Regions from separate parts of the Homo sapiens genome. Here regions 2, 3 and 4 are each linked to region 1. Evidence: promoter capture Hi-C in 16 types of primary human blood cells and fetal thymus (Javierre and others, 2016). All regions are on one chromosome and are shown on one strand. Each heading gives the region's core, a stretch centred on a gene start or on the middle of the fragment in contact. The rest is flanking DNA. Distances are from core to core; before and after follow the strand shown. Region 1 holds the start of MLC1 (modulator of VRAC current 1). Region 2 overlaps ZBED4 (zinc finger BED-type containing 4). Region 3 overlaps ZBED4 (zinc finger BED-type containing 4). Region 4 holds the start of ZBED4 (zinc finger BED-type containing 4).

Region 1 (6,285 bases), core at 74-2,573:
GGGGTCCCTGCATAGAGGCCTGTCCTGCAGCATGGCTCTGAGCAGCTGCACACACTCAGGCCCAAGTGGCTCCTCCAATCATCTCTGTGCCCACGACTGTGCAGGGAATGGCCAGGACCCCAGGGAAATCCCTCGGACATCTGGCGCTGCCCGTCCACCCCAGACCTGTTCCTTTGTTCCCCAGCTCCCTCCCAGCCGGCCCCTGAGGCCCTCCCTAGGAGGAGGAGGTCCCTGAGGTTCTCTCTGTGAGGGCCGACCTGAAGGCCTGAGACGCCTCCTCCCACCTTTGCAGGTGACCCCTCAGAGGACCCTGGGCCCCCAGAGCCGAGGGTCATGGAGACTCCTGGGGCCCATTCATGGCCCTGGGACTGTCCCTACCCTGGTGGGACTAAGCCACAACCTGGAGCAGCTCAAGGCTGGCACAACAGACACCCATAAATTAATAAAAATAATTGTGAAAACACAAGCAAAACAAGCTCGTCGGCATCCAAGAGTTCTGCAGCAGCAGGGTTAGTCTGAGAGTTGCTCTCTCTGTCCCACCTGGGGCTCCAGGGCGCTGCAGTCCGTCACCAGAGGGACCAGATGCTCGTGGCCCTCCAAGGGCTTAGTGTGGAGCTACTCACCCCCATCAGCACAGAGAAGACCCACGTCTTGTGGCTGAAGCAGGGGGGCAGTCTCTTCGACAGCTGCAGGTCGCTCGGCTTCGCGTCTGGGGCATAGCTGGCGGGGTCTTGCCGGCCCCGCTCCAGCGTGGGCATCCGGTCATAGGCCAGCTCCTCTCTGAATGGCTCCTGGGTCATGGCACTTGGGGACACCACAGCTGTGCTGAATGTACAGCCACGTGTCACCAGTTCTTTATCTGGAATAAAATTATCATCGGCTTTGGCCACTCTGAGGAAACTTCAATAAGTTGTTTCCAAGAAATATTTTTTAACAAAAGAAATATTGTTCATACTGAAGTGCTCTAAATTTGAAGAAGAAAATGAGCACTTGAATCTAAAAGTGAAAAAGAAATAACTTTCCTAGAAAAACGGACCTGAATAGTCTGGGTTCAGGGTGAGATTCTACACTTTAAATGCCTCATTGATCCATCTGGGCCCTCCAGGTGCAACACCTGACAACATCCATCGGCAACTTCGTCCATGAACACATCACGCCGGGGACTCAAGCACGTTAAACTGCTCCAATTGGTAGCTAAACGAGAGATTGCAAAACATGCCTCTACTCAACGGCTTAATGTCTGAGCACTTACCTCCCCCGCTGCTCTGCCGTTGGGAGCACTGGTCTCTGGGTGAGGGACTTCCAGCAAGAAGTATTCACAAATGAAACAAAAGCTCAGCAAACTTGAGCTGAAGGCAGGGGAAGGAGAGCTGCTTCCTGAATATCAATGAGGGGAGGAATCGGGTGGATCGTAGAAATGTTTCGTGTTGGTTGTGTAAACCACTGCCTCGGAGCTGTCAGAACCCAACTAGGAAAGGAAGGGGCCCTGCCTGTGCCACTCGCCACAGAGCTCGGGTCTCTCAGAAGAAAGAAGCGTCCCTAAGAATAGAATCCCACCAAGTACACATTCTGAGCAGGCTCTGTTTCTGAAACGTAACTGTTTACTCGAAGGTCTTCTACATCTTTCCAAGTAGCCTTTTTCCATCCCCCACAGCCACACGGTGGGAACCTCCTTCACACGGTCACATAAGCATTCACGCACTCGGCTTAGCTGTGTGGCCTTGGGCGGCTCCGGATTCGGCCCTGTGGTTTGCGTGGGCAGCCCGGATGGCTGGTGGGCCCGGTCCTGCTGCCCCCTTTATCTCTGCTCACCAAGCAGAGAAAAACCACAGTAATGTGTGTCGCCCAGAGACACTGGCACCCTGACAACTACAGCAACGGGTTCTTTGTGCACATTGTAAAAAGGCTCAAACTAAAGTTTCTGAAAAACCAGCTCCTTAAACCATGAACCCACATTAAAACTTGAGCAAAGTCATCAGGTTCCAGACCATGGGATGTTCTGTTGTCTTCGTTTCAATCAAGCAAGAAGCTTTTAGTAAGCTTTTATTAGCTTTTAGTAAGTTTTTATTAGCTTTTAGTAAGATTACACATACAAGCATCCCTGTCCCAGTGAAAATGCCCACTAAATCACCTCGATCAAAATGCGTAAGTGTCAAGTACGCATAAATGCAGCTCAAAACACTTTGCTCAACCTCACCCCCACAGGAAACAGCAGTGATAAATTTTTAGCAATAAACGAAAGTTTAAGCTATACTAGTATTTTAGGGTTAGTTAATTTTGTGCCAGCCACCACAGCCAATGTTCTGTTGTCTTCATTTCAATCAAGCAAGGATGAGAAATAATTTTCAAAAACTATAATCTGTGAAGTCAAGAACTCATTTTAATGGATTGAGAAACCTCCCAAACTTCACTATCTTTTAAAGCGATAAACGGGATTAGTGGGAGTGGGTCCAACTGGATCGAATCCTCCTGTGTTTCTTTTTGTTTGGAAAAAAATGTTAATCGGATTTCAACATTTTTTTCTTTCAAAAGTTGCTCTCCACTTAGAAATACAAACAAGCTGCCCTGAACCAGAGGTTGCAGAGCAAATCCCTCAGCTTCCCAGATCATAAGTCATCACTTGAGAAATGCTCCCAAGTTTCTGTTGGCAACACTAGTTTCTAGAACAGGCCCTGTTCTTTCATACAATCTTCCAACAAATTCTTGCTCCTAAAATGCCCTTCATCCCTCTGCCTGCTGATGTCCCATCATCATTCAACATTCAACAAACATTTATGGGGTGGACAAAGAAGTGACGTCCTTCCTATAGGCTGTTTACATTCATTGGGGGCACAGGAGTGCACAGGATAAACAAATTAGTGTGTTATACAGTGATATGGTTTGGCTGTGTCCCCACTCAAATCTCATCTTGAATTGTAATTCCCATAATTCCTACATGTCGTGGAAGGGGCCCGGTGGGAGGTAATTGAATCATGGGGGTGGTTACCCCCATGCTGCTGTTCTCCTGACAATGAGTGAGGTCTTATGAGATCTGATGGTCTTTTATAAGGGGCTTTCCCCGCTTTTGCTCAAGACTTCTCCTTCCTGCCACCTTGTGAAGAAGGACATGTTTGCTTCCCCTTCCACCATGATTGTAAGTTTCCTGAGGCCTCCTCAGCCCTGTGGAACTGTGAGTCAATTAAAGCTCTTTCCTTTATAAGGACTTGACTCTAAAATTACCCAGTCTTGGGTATGTCCTTATAGCAGCGTGAGAACAGACTAATGCATCCAGTGACACACATGATTTCCTCTATGAGGGAAAAGAAGTCAGGGGAGAGAAATGAGGGGCTGCTGTTTGCAGGGGCCAGGGCAGGCCTCAGTGAGAAGGAGGCAGGGAGGGGAGGCTGGCAGAGTTGAAGCAAAGGCCACAGGTTGGGGAAGGCAGGCGAGGACCATGCAAGGGGGATACAGGTAGGACAGCCAGGTGCCAGCACCTGTGGGTATGGAGACGACTCTGCTTCAACTCTGAGACAGACCTGCTGGAGGGGTCTGGGCAGAGCAGCATCCGGTCACTCACTGGGTGGAGAGCAGGCTGGGGGGTGGGAGGAGCAGGTGCTGCCTGGCATTGAGGTGGCAGTGGGCAAGTGGTGAGGAGGGACTGGGCTCTGAACAGGGTTTGAAGAGCGGACGCAATCTGCTGTCAGGGCGACGTTGCTGAGTTCTGTCTGAGCAGTGAGGACAGAGATGAGAAGACCAGGGTGGAGCAGGTGTGGAGCGAGGATCTGGAGTTCCATTCTGGACATGATGAGGCCGAGATGTCTGTGGGCATCTGCCGGGTCTACTGAGTCCAGAATCCCAGGGAGTGGCCCGAGCTGGGGAGCTGAGGGGCAGCCCTGCAGGCACAGCACCCGCTGCGAGCTGCCCTGGCAGGGAGCCCATGAGCCACCAGCCCTCATGCAGCTCGCTCTTGTTTCCAAGCTAATCTCCCACCAACCAGTAGGTCCCTGGGACCCTGCTGGCTCCTGTATGTGTTCCAGCACCCAGCCCAAGACACAGGCTTAGCGGGGATTTGAAATGCTAGGGAGTGCGCCACTCTCTCCCTTCCCACAGCAAGAACTATCAGTACACTCTGCATCCATGGACAGGCAAGGTCCAGGCTGTCATCAGACTGACAGATCTGACCTAGGAAAATAAAGCTATGTCAATCAAAAATAAGTCGGGGCTGGGCGCAGTGGCTCACACCTGTAATCCCAGCACTCGGGAGGCCAAGGCGGGTGGATCACCTGCGGGTCAGAAGTTCGAGACCAGCCTGACCAACATGGTAAAACCTTGTCGCTACTAAAAATACAAAAAAAAAAAAAAAAAAAAAAAAAAAAAAAAGCCAGCGTGGTGGCGCACGCCTGTAATCCCAGCTGCTCTGGAGGCTGAGGCAGGAGAATCACTTGAACCCGGGAGGTGGAGGCTACAGTGAGCTAAGATCATGCCACTGCATTCCAGCCTGGGCGACGGAGCAGGACTCCATCTCAAAAAAAAAAAAAAAGAAATAATAAAAAACAGAAACCACTGGAATAGTAAAGATATATATACGTATTTTGTTTTTGTTTTTGTTTTGAGGCAGAGTCTTGCTCTGTCTCCCAGGCTGGAGTGTAGTGGTGTGATCTCAGCTCACTGCAACCTCCACCTCCTGGGTTCAAGTGATTCTTCTGCTTCAGCCTCCCAAGTAGTTGGGATTACAGGCATGCGCCACCATGCCTGGCTAATTTTTTTTGTATTTTTTTGTAGAGACAGGATTTTGGCAGGTTGACCAGGCTGGTCTCGAACTCCTGACCTCAAGTGATCTGCTCACCTTGGCCTCGCAAAGTGTAAAGATATTTTTAAAATAGAGAAAAATCAATGAAATCAAGGGATGATTTTTTTTAAAAACTCAATAAAATTGATAAATATAGACTGATCAAGGAAAATGAGAGGGATGAGATAAATTACCTATGTCAAGAATGAAAGATGGCTCATCATTATGGACCATACAGACGTTAAAAGGATAATAAGGAAATATGCTGAACAACTTTATGCCAATAATCTGACATCTAATAATTGGATGAAATGGACAAATTCCTTAAAAGAATTACCAAAGTTTATTCAATATTACCTTGATAACTTGAATAGCCCTCTAGCTGATGCAGAAGTGAATTTCTCATTAAAAACCTTCCCACAAAGAAATCTCGAAGCCCAAATGGGTTCCCCAGCGAATACTACCACAATTTTTAGGGAATAAGTTACCCCATCCTACTCCCAGGTCACTGCAGGCCCGGCTTAAACCGACCCCAAACCAGACAGACACAGAAAACGGGAGGTCGGCCACAGAGCAATCTGCTTCACCAGCACCGTCCCCAACCTTGGACAAAGCGTTACCAAGCTGAGTCAGGCAATACACCAAAAGGATAACGAATCGTGACCAAGTGAGTTTTCCAAGGAGAGCCAAACAATGTAATTCCCTATGGGCTGAAATAAAAAGCTACAGGATCATTTGAATACATGCAGAAAAGCGTTGCAGAAAATTTCACACCCACTCATAAGAACTCTTGGAAAAACAGGAATAGAGGGAACTTCCTCAACTTGATAAAAAACACCAACAAAAAACGACTCCTAACATCACTCTGGGTGGTGAAAGCGCACTTTTCCCTAATGTGTGGGCGGCAAGAAGGCGGACCCGCTCGAAGCTCCGCCCACCCACGCGAGGCCCCGCCCGCCCGCTCGAAGCCCCGCCCACCCGGCGGTCACACCGCCTTGCGCGCTCGGCATGACGTCACTCCCACCAGGCACCTCGCCTTGTCAGGAGCTGCCAGGCGCCAACCGCCGACCTCTGACCGCTACGGGTCCCGGCTCGCGCAACGACCCCAAGGCGCATGCCCAGGCGCGGCGACCCCATTGGTGGCGGGCGGCGGGAGCGGCGCGGGCGCGTGCGGGCGGCGGCAGCGGCGGTGACGGCAGCCTAGGCCGGGCGAGGGCCATGCTGAGCCTCGCAGCCAAGCTGGTGGCCTTCTTCTGGAGGACGGCGGACACCCCTAGGGAGGAAGCCGGGCAGCTGGAGCCCGAGCTCGCGGAAGGTGGCTCGCGGGAGGCGGCTGGGAGGCGGGTCCCGGGCCCTCGCGTGTCGGCCACGAGGGAGCCGCGCCCATAGGTCTTTGAGTGCAGTGCGGGCCGGCAGGCAACGCTGGGCCCGGCCTTTCCTCATCTCCGCTGGCGGGGATCCCCGTTCGCCTCAGGAGGCTTCCGACCCCACAGCATCCCGCCGCTCTGGGCGCCCGT
Region 2 (6,351 bases), core at 1,864-4,363, 200 kb before region 1:
AGCCATATTCTTTTGTAGACAACGTTGGCTTTAACAGGCTGCTTGAATACTTGAAACCTCAGTACTCCCTCCCCGCCCCTTCCTACTTCTCCAGGACAGCTATCCCAGGTATGTATGATAATGTGAAGCAGATAATTATGTCCCACCTTAAGGAAGCTGAGAGTGGTGTGATCCACTTCACGTCTGGAATATGGATGAGTAACCAGACCCGTGAGTACCTGACCCTCACGGCCCACTGGGTTTCCTTCGAGTCGCCAGCCCGGCCGCGCTGTGACGACCACCACTGCTCGGCGCTGTTGGACGTGTCGCAGGTGGACTGCGACTACAGTGGCAACAGCATTCAGAAGCAGCTGGAGTGCTGGTGGGAAGCGTGGGTGACCTCCACCGGCCTTCAGGTGGGCATCACCGTCACCGACAACGCCAGCATCGGGAAGACGCTGAACGAGGGGGAGCACTCGAGCGTGCAGTGCTTCAGCCATACGGTGAACCTGATCGTCAGCGAGGCCATTAAGAGCCAGCGGATGGTGCAGAACCTGCTGAGCCTCGCCCGGAAGATCTGCGAGCGGGTGCACCGGTCGCCCAAGGCGAAGGAGAAACTGGCCGAGCTGCAGAGGGAGTACGCGCTGCCTCAGCATCACCTCATCCAGGACGTCCCGTCCAAGTGGAGCACTTCCTTCCACATGCTCGAGCGGCTCATTGAGCAGAAAAGGGCCATTAACGAGATGTCCGTCGAGTGTAACTTCCGAGAGCTGATCAGCTGCGACCAGTGGGAGGTCATGCAGTCCGTGTGCCGTGCGCTAAAGCCCTTCGAGGCTGCGAGCCGGGAGATGAGCACGCAGATGTCCACCCTCAGCCAGGTCATCCCCATGGTACACATCCTCAACAGGAAGGTGGAGATGCTCTTCGAGGAGACGATGGGCATCGACACCATGCTGCGCTCTCTGAAGGAGGCCATGGTGAGCCGCCTGTCTGCCACCCTCCACGACCCGCGGTACGTCTTCGCCACGCTGCTGGATCCTCGCTACAAGGCCTCCCTGTTTACGGAGGAGGAGGCGGAGCAGTACAAACAGGATTTAATCAGGGAACTCGAACTCATGAATTCTACCTCAGAGGACGTGGCTGCCTCCCACAGGTGTGATGCTGGCTCCCCGTCGAAAGACTCTGCCGCAGAGGAGAACCTGTGGTCACTTGTGGCCAAGGTGAAGAAGAAAGACCCAAGAGAAAAGCTGCCTGAAGCCATGGTGCTTGCGTATCTGGAGGAGGAGGTGCTTGAACACAGCTGTGACCCGCTCACCTACTGGAACCTGAAGAAGGCGTCCTGGCCGGGGCTGTCCGCGCTGGCCGTCAGATTTTTGGGCTGCCCCCCAAGCATCGTCCCTTCAGAAAAGCTGTTCAACACACCCACTGAGAACGGTAGCCTTGGCCAATCCAGGCTCATGATGGAACATTTTGAAAAACTTATCTTTTTGAAAGTGAATCTTCCCTTAATATACTTTCAGTATTGAAACTCACGACGGCACCACTAGGCCAGAGGCGTGGCTGCCCCAGCGTTAGCAGCCTGTACCAGGTCTATGACCCGCTCTGCCCACGGCTGTGTACGACATCAGACCAGGCACTCTCAGGGCCGCTCTCCAGCTCACCACAGTGTCTCCACGTGCCTTACCCCTTCTCCTTCAGGCCAAGTTTCGCGGGGTGTTTTATTAAGACGTCCACTAGAAATAGCTTGTCCTGTCAACTATGAAATATGGTGACTAGATTTTAATTCATAACCGTAAAGTTTTTTAAAGTTTTGGGTTAGTAATTTGTTTTACTAGAATGACAAAGAAGATGTAAACCATTTTATTCTGTAGGCTTTTTACTCAATTATGTACAAACCACAAATCAGGTACTGTATTTTAGTGAAGCATTGCTTTAATTGCAACAGAATAGCTTTTGTGGCTATCAAATGAAATCTGTAAATAGGAGGTGGAGGGCAAGCCATCCTGACTGAGCAGTTTTTAACCGCAGGTTCTAAAGTGTCCCGCGGAGTACAGATAATATTCTGGAAGGTAACTGTTTACTACGACAGAGACGTGGCATTTGGAAACGAAACTTAGATGTTTCATGGAGCTTATTTTGAGAACTTTCCCATTTCAGGTTTCTGCATTCAGGCTTTACATGGTCAGTTAACTCAGAGATACCCCAGCTGTTTATCATCAGCTCCTCTGAAATGTGATCCCTTTGTAACTGTGCTCATCACTTCGCCAGTGCGTTCAATGACACGCTGATGGCAGGTGGTCCCTGCTGAAACCCCCACGCCTCCGCTTCAGCATCTCCACGCTCTGAAGCTGTCTTTCAAAATGTGTGCACTGACCCCCTTGTTTGATCAAATTTGTGTAAAATTTTTTTAGAAGAGATGGCTTATTAACAGGGAAGAAGCTTGTTATATTCCAGTTGTAAGAATAGCCTTAGTGTTTAGATTTTTTTATGATAGGGAAGATGCGGCCATCACTGGGATATTTTCAAATCCCAAGGACATCAGAGTGAAGTGTCAGTTGTCAGATGATTTTAAAAGTTATGTCTTCAGAGAAAAAAAGATTCATTTTCTCATTTTAAACCAATTAAATATTCTGAGTGAGACTAATCACTCATTTGCCTACGACCTTTTAGAAAAGTTGTTTTGTTGAAATACTGTACGTACGCTTAATCTAAATTTGCATTGACTATGTTTTAGTGTATTTATAAATGGTGAACTCAGTTTCTGAAATTAAACTTCTTATTTGCAATTTTCTAGTGCTGGCAGACACTGGCTTTTTATTTTTAGGATAAGAAAACAGGCATATTCTTTGTGGTCCATTATCTAGAGCCCATACTTGGGCAGCATTTGAAATTTCACCTTAACCCCAGACAGGGCTCCAGGGAAGTGGAGATGTAATTCTTACAACAACAGTTCTGATCATGGCCATGGTGATGACTTTCCAGGTCTCGTGTTCAAGTGGTGCCAGAATGCAGGAGCCGGTGGGCAGCCCTGAGGGGTTGCCTTGGCCGCAGCCTCTGTGCACGCTCTTCCTGGTGTCCTCTTACCCGGTAGCTGTGCGCTTGTTCCCGTGAGAACAGCCTGCTTCCAGAGTGCCCAGGAGTGCTGGTCAGGGACAGTGCCCGTGAGGCTGCAGAGGAGGTGGGGTCCATGGCCCACCCATCTCTCCCTCGCCAGCAGCCCTGGCCAGTGTCATCCTGGTGTAGAAAGGGTTGCGCACAGGATAGGAGGGAGCCACAGTTCTTGCTTAGCTGTGCTCACGACCAGCTTGCAGTCCTGTGTTTCTTAAGATTGTATTTGGAATGGTAATATCCTTAGAATTTTGGGATATTGAGCTTCATGGATTTTCTCTCCAAAACAAGCCAGCACAACTAACTGTAGCAGAATTGTATCCACTCATTCATTCAACTGAGATGAAGTGCCCTCCCTTTTCCAGGGCCTGGGCTAGTTCCTGGAATGCAACAGAGATTTCCGTGGACACAGTCTCTAGTCTCACAGAGCATATAGTCTAGTCCACGATTGGCAAGCTGCAACCACAGACCCAGTCCGGCACTCTGCCCATTTTTCTAAGTGAAATTTTCTTGGAATACAGTCACAGCTGTTTTTTTAACATGGTGTCTTGGCTACTTTCAGGCTGCGACGGGAGAACTGAATAGTTGTGACAGAGACCACAGGCCCACTGAAAGGGACAAACAGGGCTGAAAATACTCACTGTTTGGCCCTTTCCAGAATAGCAAGTTTGCTGGCCCTTGAGCTAGCCTGCCTTTATGGGGTTTTTTTTGTTTGTTTTTTTAAGCTTTCAGCTTCATGCTGCTGTATTTTTAGTTGAAGTGTTCTGAGTAACAGTCAGTGTATAAAAGGGGATTGCAGAAAAAAATGAGGGCTTGCTTTACTCAACAGAAAATATGGCCCTTCCTGAATGACACTAGGAGAGTCATTTTATCTCATACATTCCCTTCATTTCGTTGGTGGACATTTGTTGAAACCGGCACTCAATGGTCAAACCGTCTCTGCCCTCCAGTTGCTGACAGTCCTGCAGGAAGATGGACAAGAGGCCCAGTGCTGACAGTCACACGACTCTCACTACTTGAATGAGGGGACTGTGGGTGCAACTAGAAAATATGTTGATTCTTAGCCATTCCCACCTTGCCTCTCCGTTCAGAACCCCAGCTGCGAGCTGTTTGTTTCCCTGCCTGGAAATGATGTTTTAGGCAGGTTCCTTAATTTCTCAGGTCTGTCTCAGATAATAAAAAGCTCTTTGTATGAGCCTCAGAACTGTCTCTTCAGTGAATGAAATTACCAGTCATTATACGAAGGGACTTTAAAAAATTTGTGGAAATACTGAAGTAAAAGATGATAAAAAAATAAAAACTTTATTTCTTGGCTGGGCACAGTGGCTTATGTTTGTAATCCCAGTACTTTGGGAGGCTGAGGTGGGAGGACTGCTTGAGGCCAGGAGTTCAAGAAATTAGCCAGGTTTGGTAGTGCATGCCTGTAGTCCCAGCTACTTGGGAGGCAGAGGGAGGAGGATTACTTGAGCCCAGGAGTTTGAGGTTGCAGTGAGCTGTGATCACACCACTGCACTCTAGCCTGGACAACAGAGCAAGATCCTCTCTCTTAAAACCACCAACAATGACAACAACAAAACAACATTTTTATTTCTCAATGTAAGCTCCATCAAGATCAAGATACTTTTGTAAGCTGTGACACCAGCCATTTAGTCCACCTCTAAAGAATTGCAGGCTCTGGGAATTTAACCATGTCAGTGCAGCCTTTTTAACATTATTAACGGAAGAAAAAATGAGTGCTTTTAAAGATTTTTTAAAATGAGGAAACAAAGTCAGAAGGAGCAAAATCGGGACTGTAAGGTGGATGCCTAATGATTTCCCAACAAAACTCTTGAAGAATTGCCCTTATTTGATGAGAAGAATGAGCCAGGAGCATTGTCATCGTGGAGAAAGACACTGATGAGGCTTTCCTGGGTGTGTTTTTGCTAAAGCTTCGGCTAACTTTCTCAAAACACTCTCATAATAAGATGTTATTGTGGCCAGATGCGGTGGCTCACGCCTGTAATCCCAGCACTTTGGGAGGCTGAGGTGGGCAGATCACGAGGTCAGGAAATCGAGACCATCCTGGCTAACATGGTGAAACCCCGTCCCGTCTCCACTAAAAATACAAAAAATTAGCTGGGCGTGGTGGCAGGCACCTCTAGTCCCAGCTACTCCAGCTACTCGGAAGGCTGAGGCAGGAGAATGGCGTGAACCTGGGAGGCAGAGCTTGCAGCTAGCTGAGATTGTGCCACTGCACTCCAGCCTGGGCGACAGAGCGAGACTCCATCTCAAAAAAAAAAAAAAAATGTTCTTTGGCCCTCCAGAAAGTCAACAAGCAAAATGCATTGAGCATCCCAAGAAACTGTTGCCATGACCTTACTTTGACTTGTCCACATTTGCCTTGACTAGGCCACTTCTACCTCTTGGTAGCCATTGCTTTGATTGTGGTTTGTCTTCAGGATGGTACTGGTAAAGTCCTGTTCCATCTCCTGTTATAATTCAAGGAAATGCTTCAGGGTCTTGATGCCACTTGTTTAAAATTTCCATTGAAAGCTCTGCTCTTGTCTGCAGCTGATCTGGGCACAACGGTTTTGGCACCCATCGAGTGGAAAGCTTGCTCAACTTCAATTTTGAACCAGTTGAGATGTCTGTGGTCTTGGCTATTGTTCTGTTAATCGTCAGTCCTCTTTAATCAGAGCATGAACAAGATCAATATTTTCCTTGCAAATTGATGTGGATGGTCTGCCACTGTGGTCTTCATCTCCAATGTTGTCTTGATCCTTCTTAAAACGAGGTATCTATGTGTATACTGCTGACTTCTTTAGGGCACTGTCCTCATACACTTTTTGTAAAGCATCATGATTTTCACCATTCTTCCACCCAAGGTTCACTATAGATTTGATGCTTGTTTTTGCTTCAGTTTTTGCAGAATTCATGTTCTGCTAGGAGCCCTTTTCAAACTGATTCTTACTGCCTCAAACTAGATCTATTCAGGCATGTTCTAACAAGTTAGTATGAGTTTATTTTGGAGCAAAAGAATTTTGAAATGCATGCATAGTTTTGTCATAATATGCATTTTCCATGAACTTTTTGAAGACCACTCCTGCAATAATAAAACATTGAACTTCATTTAAAGCTAAAATTCCCTTCTCTTCCACTTCTGACTATGAGGCAGCAACTGCTATCAGACCAAACCTTTCCCAAGAACTATCAAGGCCATATAAAATATATTTTTAAAAAGAGCTTTTTGCATCCTGGCTAAAACAGTGAAACCCCGTCTCTACT
Region 3 (5,896 bases), core at 1,515-4,014, 210 kb before region 1:
AGCAAACAAATGAGCTTACTATATTTCAAATGAATAAAATAACTACACTTGAGGAAGGAAGCTGGCTGAGGCTGGTGGATCACCCAGGATCAGGAGTTCGACACCAGCCTGGGCAACATGGTGAAACCCCATCTCCACAAAAAATGCAAAAAATTAACTGGGTGGTGGCACACACCTGTCATCCCAGCTACTGAGGAGGCTGAGGTGGGAGGATTACTTGAGCTCATGAGGCGGAGGTTGCAGTGAGCCAAGATTGTGCCACTGCACTCTAGCCTGGGCAACAGAGCGAGACTGTCTCTTCCAACAAAAAAGAAAAATGAAAACTGACCCAAGAAACTCTTGGACACGATGTGATTATAAACCTCCAAGTAAAAAGATAAAAATTATAAATGAATTGTGATCTCCAGCTAGAAGGCTTGTTTTCTTGGTGGCCTGGGTTAGTAATTCTGCAGCTACTTCGTGCATGTGTTGTAGGGTTGAGCAAATGAGGAAATCTGCCAGGAGGGTGGGAGCCCAGCCTCCCAGAGGTGGATTGAAACGTCACGGATGCAGGCCGGGCGCAATGGCTCACACCTGTAATCCCAGCACTTTGGGAGGCCAAGGCAGGCGGATCACCTGAGATTGGGAGTTTGAGACCAGCCTGACCAACATGGAGAAACTCTGTCTCTACTAAAAATACAAAAAAAAAAAAAAAAATTAGCTGGGTGTGATGGTGTATGCCTGTAATCCGAGCTGCTTGTGAGACTGAGGCAGGAGAATCACTTGAACCCAGGAGGCGGAGGTTGGGTGAGTCGAGATCATGCCATTGCACTTCAGCCTGGGCAACAAGAGCAAAACTGTCTCAAAAAAAAAAAAAAAAGAAAAATCACGGTTGTGGAAAGGGGGATGCTCGGTCTTGTGATCTCAGGGTCAGGGCAGAGTTGGCGGTGTCAGTGTGAAGTTGTGGCTTTGATTCACGTACACACATGCATGTTGGTGTGTGTGTTTATGGGTTCTAGTGCTTCCGCTGGAAGGGCCTAAAGGCAGAGGCACCCGTAACAGTGAGTGCACGGCTGCCTACCTCGTACCCGCGTGGTGGTTATCCACCTCGGGCCTTTTTGGCAGCGCTCGTCCTCCAGACCAGATTATTTCATCTCTGACTGGAGAACACTCTTGCGTGGACTTTAGTGTGGGTCACTTAGAGACACGTTCTGTGTTTGGTTTGTCTGATGGTGTTTTTTAGTTCCTGTTTATTCCTCAGGGAATATTTGTACTGCTTACTGAATTCTGGTTTGGCTCTCATTTTTCACAGCTTTGAAGATGTCATTCCTCTGTCTCCTGATTTACATTGTTTCTCTTAAAAAGTCAGCAGTGTATCTCATTGGTTTTTTTCTTAAAATAGCTTTCATGGAAATAATCTGATATACGTAAAAGTGGAAAGGGTAGCATAATAAACCCTGTGCACGCATCCCCAGCTTCAGAATTACCAGTTCACAGCCATTCCCATTTCATCTGTGTCCTCCACTCACTTTTTAAAAAGTTTTGTTTTTAAAAAGAATTTCAACTTTGATTTTAGATTCATCAGGCACATGTGCAGGTTCACGACATGGTATATTGCGTGATGCTGAGTTTGGGATAAGAATGATCGTCGCCCAGATCGTGAGCATGGTACTCAATAGGTTGTTTTTCAGTCTTGTCCCCTCCTCCCTTCCTCCCTCCCTCACTCCTCACTCTCGCAGTCCCAGTGCCTGTGGTTCTCATCTTTATGTCCCTGTGTACCACATGCTTAGCTCCCACTGATAGGTGAGAACATGTGGTATCCGGTTTTCTGTTCCTGTGTTTGTTCACTTAGGATGATGGTCTCCAGATGCATGCATGTTGCTGCAAGGGACATGATTTTGTTCTTTTTTATGGCTGTATAATATTCCATGGTGTGGATATACCACATTTTCCTTATCCAGTCCACCATTGCTAGGCACGTAGGTTGATTCCATGTCTTTGCTATTGTAAATAGTGCTGTGATGAACATACATGTGTACATGGGGTTTTTTTGTAGAATGATTTATTTCTTTGGGTACATACCTGGTAGTGGCATCACTGGGTCCAATGGTAGCTCTGTTTTTAGTTCTTTGAGAAGACTCCACACTGCTCTCCGCAGTGGCTGAACTCATTGACATCCCTGCCAGCAGTGCTTGAGTTTCCCTTTTCTCTGTAGCCTCTCCAGCATCTGTTATTTTTTTCTTTTTTTAATAAAAGCCATTGTGACGGGTGTGAGATGGTATCTCGTTGTGGTTTTGATTTGCACTTCTCTGATGACTGTTGATGTCGAGCATTTTTTCACGTCTGTTGGCCACTTTTATGTCTCCTTTCGAGAAGTATCTGTTCATGTCCTTTGCTTGCTTTTTAATGGGGTTATTTTATTTCTTGTTAAGCTTCTTATAGATTCTGGATTTCAGACCTTTGTCAGATGCATAGTTTGCAGATATTTTCTCTTATTCAGTGGGTTTTCTGTTTATTCTGTCGATGGTCTCCTTTTCTGTGATAGTTTCAGCTATGCAGAGGCTCTTTAGTTAGGTCCCAGTTGTCAATTTTTGTTTCTGTTACAATCCACTCAATTATTTTGAAGCAAATACCCAAAATCATAATTCACGTAGCTACATTTCAGTAAGTATTTTTAAAAGATAGATTTTTTTTTTTTTTTGAGATGGAGTCTCACTCTGTTACCCAGGCTGGAGTGCAGTGGTGCAATCTTGGCTAACTGCAACCTCCATCTCCAGGGTTCAAGCAATTCTCATGCCTCAGCCTCTCAAGCAGCTGGGATTACAGGTGTGCACCACAATGCCTGGCTAATATATTTTTTTTTAGTAGAGATGGGGTTTCACCCTGTTGGCCAGGCTGGTCTCAAGCCTCCCAAAGTGCTAGGACTACAGGCGTGAGTCACTGTGCCTGGCTTAGAATTCTCTTTTAAAAGTTAATTCATCAGCACTTTGGGAGGCCAAGGCAGGTGGATCACGAGGTCAGGAGTTCGAGACCAGCCTGGCCAATGTGGTGAAACCCCGTCACTACTAAAAATACAAAATTAGCTGGGTGTGGTGGCACGCACCTGTAATCTCAGCTACTCAGGAGGCTGAGGCAGGAGAAAGCTTGAACTTGGGAGGCGAAGCTTACAGTGAGCCGATATTGCCACTGCACTCCAGCCTGGGCGACAGAGTGAGACTCTGTCTCAAAAATAAAAAAAAAGTTACATTTTCAGTATAATGTAGTCTGGTAAGCGTGCAATAGCATGACGTCTAAAACAATGTACCTACCTTGATTTTTAAAAAGCTTGTTGCTGAAAATGCCAACAGTCATCTGAGCCTTCAGCAACTCATAATCTCAGCTGGGAGGAGATGTTGCCTTGGTGTCCAGGGCTGCTGACCAATCAGAGTGCAGATTGCTGACCAATCAGAGTGCAGATTGCTGAAGGGTGGGGTGGCTGTGACAATTTATTTATTTATTTATTTTTTTTTTTTTTTGAGACAGAGTCTTACTCTGTCGCCCAGGGTGGAGTGCAGTGGTGTGATCTCAGCTCACTACAACCTCCACCTCCTGGGTTGAAGCGATTCTCCTGCCTCAGTAGCTGGGATTACAGGTGCACACCAACATGCCCAGCTAATTTTTGTATTTTTAGTAGAGACGAGGTTTCACCATGTTGGCCAGGCTGGTCTCGAACTCTTCACCTCGTGATCCGCCTGCCTCGGCCTACCAAAGTGCTGGGATTACAGGCGTGAGCCACTGCACCCGGCTGACAATTTCTTAAAATAAGACAATGAAGTTTGCTACATCGATTAACTCTTCTATGAAAGAGTTCTCCATAGTGTACATTTTACCCACAGTAGAACTTCTTTCAAAATTGTAGTCAATCCTCTCAAACCCTGCTGTTGTTTTATCAATTATGCTTATAGAATATTCCAAAATCTTTATTGTCATTTTAACAGTGTTCATAGCATCTCCACCAGGAGTAGATTCCATCTCAACAAACTAGTTTCTTTGCTCATCCCTAAGCAGCAGCTCCTCATTCACTCAAGTTTTATCCTAAGAGTACAGCAATTCCGCCGTATCTTTGGGTTCTGTGTATAATTCTAGTTTTTGCCCTTTCCACCAAATCTGCAGTCACTTCCTCCATTGAAGTCTGAGCCCCTCAGAGTCATCCATGAGGGTTAGAATTAACTTCCTTCAACCCATTCTCCTGGTAATGTTGGTATTTTCCCGTCCCAGGAATCACACATGGTTTTGTTTTTGTTGTTTTTAGAGATATGGTCTTGCTCTGTCACCAAGGCTAAAGTGCAGTGTCACGATCACAGCTCACTGCAGTCTCAACCTCTTGGTCTCAAGCGAACCTCCCGTCTCAGCCTGCCAGGTAGCTGGGACTGCAGGTGTATGCCACCAAGCCTGGCTAATTTTTAAATTTTTTTTTTTTTTTCCTGAGATGGAGACTCACTCCATCGCCCAGGCTGGAGTGCAGTGACGTGATCGCGGCTCACTGCAACCTCTGCCTCCCAGGTTCAAGCGAATTCTCCTGCCTCAGCCTCCCGAGTAGCTGGGACCGCAGGCACCTGCCGGCTAATTTTTTTGTATTTTTAGTAGAGACAGGTTTCACCATGTTAGCCAGGATGGTCTCGATCTCCTGACCTTGTGATCCACCCGCCTCGGCCTCCCAAAGTGCTAGGATTACAGGCGTGAACTACCGCGCCCAGCCAATGTTTTAATTTTTTGTAGAGCTGGGGTTTTGCCATGTTGCCCAGGCTGGTCACAAACTCCTGAGCTCATGCAGTCCACCTGCCTTGGCCTCCCAAGGTGCTGGGATTACAGACATGAGCCACTACAGCCAGGGATTTCCTTCAAGAACTTTCCTTTGCATTCACGTCTTGGCTGTTGGTACAAGAGTCCTAGCGTTGGCCTCTCTCAGCTTTAGACGTGCCTTCATCACTAAGCTTAATCATTTCTATCTTTTGAAAATGAGAGACGTGATACTTCCTTTCACTTGAACATGTAGAGGATTAATCGGCCTAATTCTAATTTCTCGTGTGTCTCAGGGAAGAGGGAGGCTGGAGGAGAGGGAGAGAGACGGGGAACTGCTGGTTGATGGAGCAGTCAGGACACACATTTATCAGTTAAGTTCACTGTCTGACATGGGTGTGGCTTGTGGTGGCTCACGTTAATTACGATGGTAGCATTAGAGAGTACTGATCACAGATCACCATAACAGATACCATGATAATGGAAAAGTGTGAAATATTGCCAGAATTACCAAAATGTGACACACAGGTGGAGAGCCCCTGCTGTTAGAAAATGGCACCGATGGACGTGCTTGATGCAGGATTGCCACAAACCTCCAATTTGGGGGAAAAAAAAGTATCTGCAAAGAGCAGTAAAGCGAGGTGCGGTGATATGAGGTGATATGAGGTATTGGGTCTTCCCACCTCATCACCCCCACCCTGCAGCCCCAAGAAAGGCTCAGAGAGAGTCAAGACCAACCTAGAATGAGATGTCTGTTTTGAAGAGAGAACAGCTGGGTTCTTCTCGACCCACAGGGATGCACGGCCCACCTTGTAGGTTGGAGCGAGGAGCGTGGAGGACAAGATCATCCTGGAATGAGAACATAAGGGCTGGGGAATGGGGCGGCGCTGCCACCAGGGAGGAGAGATGCCTGAAATTAGGACATTCCCGGGGAGCTGGCCCGTGCCGAGAACAAGAATGAGCTTGAGTCCTGTGACCTCTCTGAACTCTCTTACTCTTTAGCTCTAGTACTGTTTTGTAGAGGCCTTACAACCTTTATGACATCGATGGCCCTGTCGTCTGCCCATCAAGGCAGTTCTGATTTTCTCTGACAGCCGCCTCCTGCCTGGGCAGACTCCCATCCAGTGCTGTATAGAAT
Region 4 (5,474 bases), core at 2,407-4,906, 230 kb before region 1:
GGCCCCATGATGTCTAGTGTGCCCTTCCATGCTCCAGGGTGCCCCATTTGGGCACTTAGTCCAAGGGCCACCCGACATACAAAACAGTATCTTCCTGTGAGGGGCCAGAGAATAGGCCGCACCTGGCTGCCCTGCACAATTTGGAAGGCACTAGGAGGGACCTGTCAACCTGCACTCACTCACTCACCGGCAGGCCCCTTTGGGAAGAGCTGTTGCTCTTTGGCCCCAGGAATCTTCTATTTCTGCACATGAGTGCCAGGCAATTGTGGGGCCCCATTAACCTACTCCACAAAGCGTAGGGGGCCTTGCTCTCGGCACTGGGCATGCTCCCTCAGCACATACAACAAAGAAGTCCCCCCTCCCACTGATTCTAGCAGGAGGCTGTTGGGGGGCAGTCATGACACAGGCATATACAGTGTGTCAGATGTGTCAGAGCCCGGAGAGGGGATGAGGAGAGCGCAGTGTTACTTCCTAGAGCATGGCCCCGGAGAGCCTCCCACTATGCTGACATATGGGCAGCCGTCTGGGAGCTTGACACTGGCAGAGGGGAAGAGCAGTCCAGGCAGACAAGAAGTCAGTGCGAAGACCCCAAAGCAAGCATCAAGGAGGCTGGGGGCTGCTGCAGATCTGATGAGGGGATGGCAGGGGCAGAGCAGGCCTGAGAACACTGGCCTCCACTCTGAATGAAACAGGGATCCCCAGGCCGGGCACGGTGGCTCATGCCTGTAATCCCAGCACTTTGGGAGGCCAAGGCGGGCGGATCACAAGATCAGGAGATCGAGACCATCCTGGTCAACATGGTGAAACCCCATCTCTACTAAAAATACATAAATTAGCTGGGCGTGGTGGCGAGCGCCTGTAGTCTCAGCTACTCTGGAGGCTGAGGCAGGAGAATCGCTTGAACCCGGGAGGCGGAGGTTGCAGTGAGCCGAGATCACGCTACCGCACTCCAGCCTGGGGACAGAGCGAGACTCTGTCTCAGAAAGAAAAAAAAAAGAAAAAGAAAGAAACAGGGAGCCCTTTTTGGGTGTCAGTGCCTGGTCTCAACTCCATAGCTATGGTGGAAGGTAAAGCAGTTTACCTTTTAACTACATGAACAAGCATGGTGGTGTTCCAGTTGAACTCCTTAGGAAACCGACATTTTAATTTAATTTTTTTTTGGAGACGGAGTCTTGCTCTGTCACCCAGACTGGAGTGCAGTGGCGCGATCTCGGCTCACTGCAACCTCTGCCTCCCGGGTTCAAGCGATTCTTCTGCCTCAGTCTCCCGAGTATCTGGGATTACAGGAGCCCACCACCACGTCTGGCTAATTTTTTATTTTTTTTCAGTAGAGACGGGGTTTCTCCATGTTGGCCAGGCTGGTCTCGAACTCCTGATCTCAGGTGATCCACCCGCCTCGGCCTCCCAAAGTGCAGGGATTACAGGCGTGAGCCACCGTGCCCGGCCGATATTTGAATGTCATATACTTTTCATATATGCTAAAATACTGTTTTAATTCTCCCCCAACCTCTTAAAAACGAGAAAAGCATTCTTAGCTCAGGCACCATAGAAAACCCGGCTGCAGGCTGGACGTGGACTTTGGAACAGTCGGCGTGCGGGTGAAGGGGCACAGCCGCGGGGCAGGGGCGGGCTCCGGGCAGAGGCGGCCGTGATAACTCCACGCTCCCGCTCCAGCCGGTGACCGCCACGCGGGCTCCTCTCACTCTCACACTCAGGCCGAGAAAATGCCGAAAGCCGTGTCACCAACGGGGGACCTCGGGGCCACATTCAGCATGCAGAGTTTATTTGGTCTGCTCAAACATTTGTGTTAGGAAATAACACATTAAAAGTGCACATTTCCTTCAGACCCTGAGAAGCGGGCGAGTCCCGTGCGCTCCGCACCGCCAGCCCCGGCCCCGCGCTCGCCCAGAGGGCCGCCCTCCTCCCGCCGACCCGGCTTGGGGCTTAGGCGTTAATCCCGTCCCCCGGGGGGGCCGCGCGGGGAGCCCCGATCGCCTTAGGGTCAACGGCTTAGGTCCCAGCCCACGAGGCCTGACCGCACCGCACTGAGCGGCCTCTGCGCCAGGTAAGGGGGTTCGGGGCGGGACCGGGAACCGCGCTGCTAGCCGTCCCGGAAACCCGCGGTGGGCCGTTGGGTGCGCGCCGAGCCGCTGCCAACTGCCAAGCCACGGGACGAAACCAAGGCGCCCGCGCCCCGCCCAGCCAGAGCGCCTAAGCCCTTCCCGTCGCCCGCCAGCGCCGGAGCGCCCACTGCGCCTGCGTAGTTTGCCCTCCTGGACCCGGGGGCGGAGCCGAAGCGCGCATTGCGCCTGCGTCTTCCGCCCGACCCCGCCCCAGCGGCCGGGCCTCCGGCGCTCCGTCCTCCCGCCCGGCCAGGGACGAGGCGGGGCGGGTACGCGGACACTGCGCCTGCGAGAGTAGGCCCCGCCCCCGATCGGCCCCGCCCCCGGCCAGCCCCGCCCCGCGCCGCGCGGGGCCCTGGGAGGGGCGCAGCGTCCGGCGGCGTCGCGGGCGGCGGGCGGCGGGGCCGCGGGAGGGGCGCGGGGGCAGACAAAGCCGCGGTAATGAATGGAGCGTCCGCCCGCGCCGCCGTCGTCCGCAGCCGGCCGGGAGCCGCCCCAGAGGCCGGGCCGAGGTGAGTGCGCGGGCGCCGCCGCCCCGCCGCCTGCCGCGAGCCCCGTCCCCCGCGGACCGCGCCGGGGCCGGGCCGGGCCGCGCCATTGTCTGCGCCGCGCCGGGGCCAGGGCCGGGGCCAGGCGGGCGGGGGCGCGGTTCCGTGGCCTCGGGGTCCCCGCCCGGCGCCGCCCCGGACCCGCCCCCGCGCGGACCCCGGCCCTGACAGCTGGCGCGGGGGCGGCGCCGACTGAGCGGCCGAGTGCCGGGGGTCGGCGCCCGGCCTGGCCCACGTGCCCGCGCCGTTGCTTCCGGGCGGACGGGACGGGGCTCGGGCTCGGGGCGCCGCCCGGGTCCGCCGGGAGCGCGCTGTCCCGGCCACGTCGAGTTAACCCCGCGAGCCCCGTCCCTGGGACTTCTCTGGACGTGTCATTCCCGTCCCACCTCCAGGAAGGGCCACCTGGGCCCTGCTTCATGTCTCAGCCCAGACGGGTCCTTGCGACGCGCCCCGAGGCAGGTTATTGTACGTGGTTCTGGGGATGACCGTTCACATTTAATGAATAAAAATGTAACTTGCCTTGCGAACCATAATTTCAAATGTTTTTCGACTGCAGTGGTTTTCCTACACCCAAATGAGCTCGCAGTCAGTTTTGTTTCTTCTTTTGTCCCGTTGTGTGGCCCACACCGCCTTCGTTGCTAAGAGAATCGCAGCCCCTCGGGCTCCCTTCTGCGCCTTTCTATTCCGGGTGGCCCTGGTAGACCCGGGCACCTCTGTGGAAACACGTCCCGGCCAAGCTGAGCCGTCAGAAGCTTCTGTTGGTGTTCTCGTGTTGGTCGAAAGGGAAGTTATTTATTTTGAAGTTAACTCTGATCAGATTACGTTTTTAGAAATCCATTCAGACCTCATAGTGAGGCCAGTTTGGTAAAGCAAGGGCATCCTGCGACTTTTTACACAGAAATGTTTTTTATTTTTTCTGTGTATGTCATTCATAGTGACAAAATTGAGGCTAGGAAGGATTTGGTTGGGATTTTTTTTTAAGTGCTATGAATAAGCCACATTTTGATTATGAATTAATTGCAATTACTAAACAAAGTTACTTTGCAAGAGGAAAGTTTACAGGAGTTTGATTCCATACTCCGAGGGTTTCCAATGGGACGTCCGTACAAGGCTGCACACTTCCCGTAGTCCTTAAACGGATTATATCTGCTTGTCATGATTGGCTTTTTTTCAAGAAAAGATCTAGCACAAGTTAAGAGAGATTCTGTGAATCTTGAAAAAGCTTCAGAGGCCCGGTCTTTGAGGTGAGGACACAGTTAATCTATATGGAAAGAAACCTAAGACTTTTAGTCCACTTGACAGGTGGTTACAGGGTCTCCCCCAACACACACTCTTGTCCAGGTAATTCCTGAATAAGGTGGTTGATGTTGTTGGATGTAAAACCTCTGCTCTTTAAGGTTACCTCCTCCCCAACCCCCTCCACACACACAGTGAGTAACTCAGCTGTGCAAAGTATGTCCATAACACCTTGCAGAAAGACTAAAAAAATTACTAGGGGAGCGGACTGACTTCTGTGTGTGTGCAGAGGAGCTGAGAAGCAGCTTCTTTAGCGAAAGGTGTGTGTGTGTGTGTGTCTCAGATCCTTGGTGAGGAGCCCTGGGGAGTGGACTCCTGGCGGCATGAGGAGCAGGAAGTGACCGTGGTCAGTGCCGTCCTTCACTTTGTTTTGCGTTTTTTTCTTTGCCTGGCTTTAGCTTCTGGTCTCATTCTCTTTGGTGTGGTGGTTGTCTTTTGAGAGGAGGGAGCAGGTGAAACAGCTGGGCGTGGCTTTGCCCAGCCCTGGGGTAGAGGCCAAGCTGGCCCTTCCTTACCAACGTTGTTTCCTTCACTGTTTAAATCTCAGGACCTGAGAATGTACCTATAGGAATTGCTCTTATTTACATTTGGCTGTGTAAGAAAGTCACTGTGCCTTTAGCCCGTGACACCCCTTAGCGGTTTGGTTTTGGCTTTCTCTTTTAGTGTCTGTGGATTCCAGCAGCTCTCTGGCTTCAGCCCTTTCAAGGATTCGGGCCTCTCTGCATCCCAGCCTTCCAGGCCCTTCTGCTCCCCACTTTTTAGCACCTAGGTTTTTCTACATTCTGCAGTACCTCAGATCCCTTCCTTGGTCATCACTGGATATGTGCTTTTGTAGTTCAAATTCTGGGAGGCATTGTTAGGAATAAAATAAGCTCTTTGCCATTTCTGAGGCGGAGGGGAGCAGGAGAGACAGAGGTGCTTGCCTCTCTGCCTGCTGGGGCCATGGTGGTTTTCAAAGAAGGCCCTGGCCGTAGGGAACATGGTGGTGGTGAGGAGCAGCGTAAACCAGAGAAAAAGGCTCAGTAAGTGCTTCAAGGAGAAACACCGGCAGGTGAGAGCAGGGGTAATCCCAGTTTCTCAGGAAAGCATGCTCCGGAGACCTCATAGGGAGAGGAGGTTGCCCTGAAGGGTCTGGGGGCGATGGCGGAAGCCCCAGGAGAGCATTGTCCATGAGGTGCAGAGGCAGCCTCACGGCATCCCAGTGCGTACCTCCTGCCCGGCCCAAGCGCCTGCTGCTGAAGCCGCCTCCCAGCTCCCCCGGGTTGTTTCGGAATTCAGGGGACATGCAGCCTAAATGACCCACACTGGAATCCCGGCCGGCTTCCCATCCCTCGTTCTAGGTGAAGGCCGCGCTGGAATCCCGGCCGGCTTCCCATCCCTCGTTCTAGGTGAAGGCCGCGCTGGAATCCCGGCCGGCTTCCCACCTCTCGTTCTAGGTGAAGGCCGCGCTGGAATCCCGGCCGGCTTCCCACCCCTCGTTCTAGGTGAAGGCCGCGCTGGAATCCCG

Evidence for each region. Contacts are between HindIII fragments. The CHiCAGO score rates a contact against its expected background, and 5 or more counts as called.
Region 2: a fragment that was not itself captured here is called in contact with the fragment with the promoter of MLC1 in region 1 in 7 of 17 cell types (naive B cells, total B cells, endothelial precursors and 4 more); the score reaches 7.9 in naive B cells.
Region 3: a contact is called between a fragment that was not itself captured here and the fragment with the promoter of MLC1 in region 1, in 2 of 17 cell types (erythroblasts and total B cells). The highest score is 5.8, in erythroblasts.
Region 4: a fragment that was not itself captured here is called in contact with the fragment with the promoter of MLC1 in region 1 in 3 of 17 cell types (erythroblasts, megakaryocytes and total B cells); the score reaches 9.7 in erythroblasts.

What each region holds. Positions count from the first base shown.
Region 1 is chr22:50,084,103-50,090,387 of GRCh38, forward strand. MLC1 (modulator of VRAC current 1) reads right to left here and starts at 1,324. Exons shown (of 12, transcript NM_015166.4): 1 at 1,253-1,324; 2 at 624-859. The coding sequence starts at 800. MOV10L1 (Mov10 like RNA helicase 1) reads left to right here and starts at 5,904. Exons shown (of 27, transcript NM_018995.3): 1 at 5,904-6,083. The coding sequence starts at 5,987. RefSeq lists an enhancer at 972-1,596. The HindIII fragment of the contact is 3,674 bases long and covers 1-2,027 here.
Region 2 is chr22:49,885,674-49,892,024 of GRCh38, forward strand. It overlaps ZBED4 (zinc finger BED-type containing 4), which reads left to right. Exons shown (of 2, transcript NM_014838.3): 2 at 1-4,407. The coding sequence ends at 1,505. It also overlaps a transcript of ALG12 not described here. Among named protein-coding and RNA genes, the nearest start is that of ALG12, 30 kb to the right of the region's middle. RefSeq lists an enhancer at 2,610-3,111. The HindIII fragment of the contact is 1,394 bases long and covers 2,417-3,810 here.
Region 3 is chr22:49,868,279-49,874,174 of GRCh38, forward strand. All of the region lies in intron 1 of ZBED4 (zinc finger BED-type containing 4), which reads left to right. It also overlaps a transcript of ALG12 not described here. Among named protein-coding and RNA genes, the nearest start is that of ZBED4, 17 kb to the left of the region's middle. The HindIII fragment of the contact is 711 bases long and covers 2,410-3,120 here.
Region 4 is chr22:49,851,355-49,856,828 of GRCh38, forward strand. It overlaps ZBED4 (zinc finger BED-type containing 4), which reads left to right and starts at 2,490. Exons shown (of 2, transcript NM_014838.3): 1 at 2,490-2,635. LOC124905147 (a long non-coding RNA gene) reads right to left here. Exons shown (of 2, transcript XR_007068156.1): 2 at 3,148-3,932. LOC105377205 (a long non-coding RNA gene) reads right to left here and starts at 2,158. Exons shown (of 5, transcript NR_188597.1): 1 at 1,082-2,158. RefSeq lists silencers at 1,838-1,927, 1,948-2,677, 2,848-3,137 and an enhancer at 5,323-5,474. The HindIII fragment of the contact is 470 bases long and covers 3,422-3,891 here.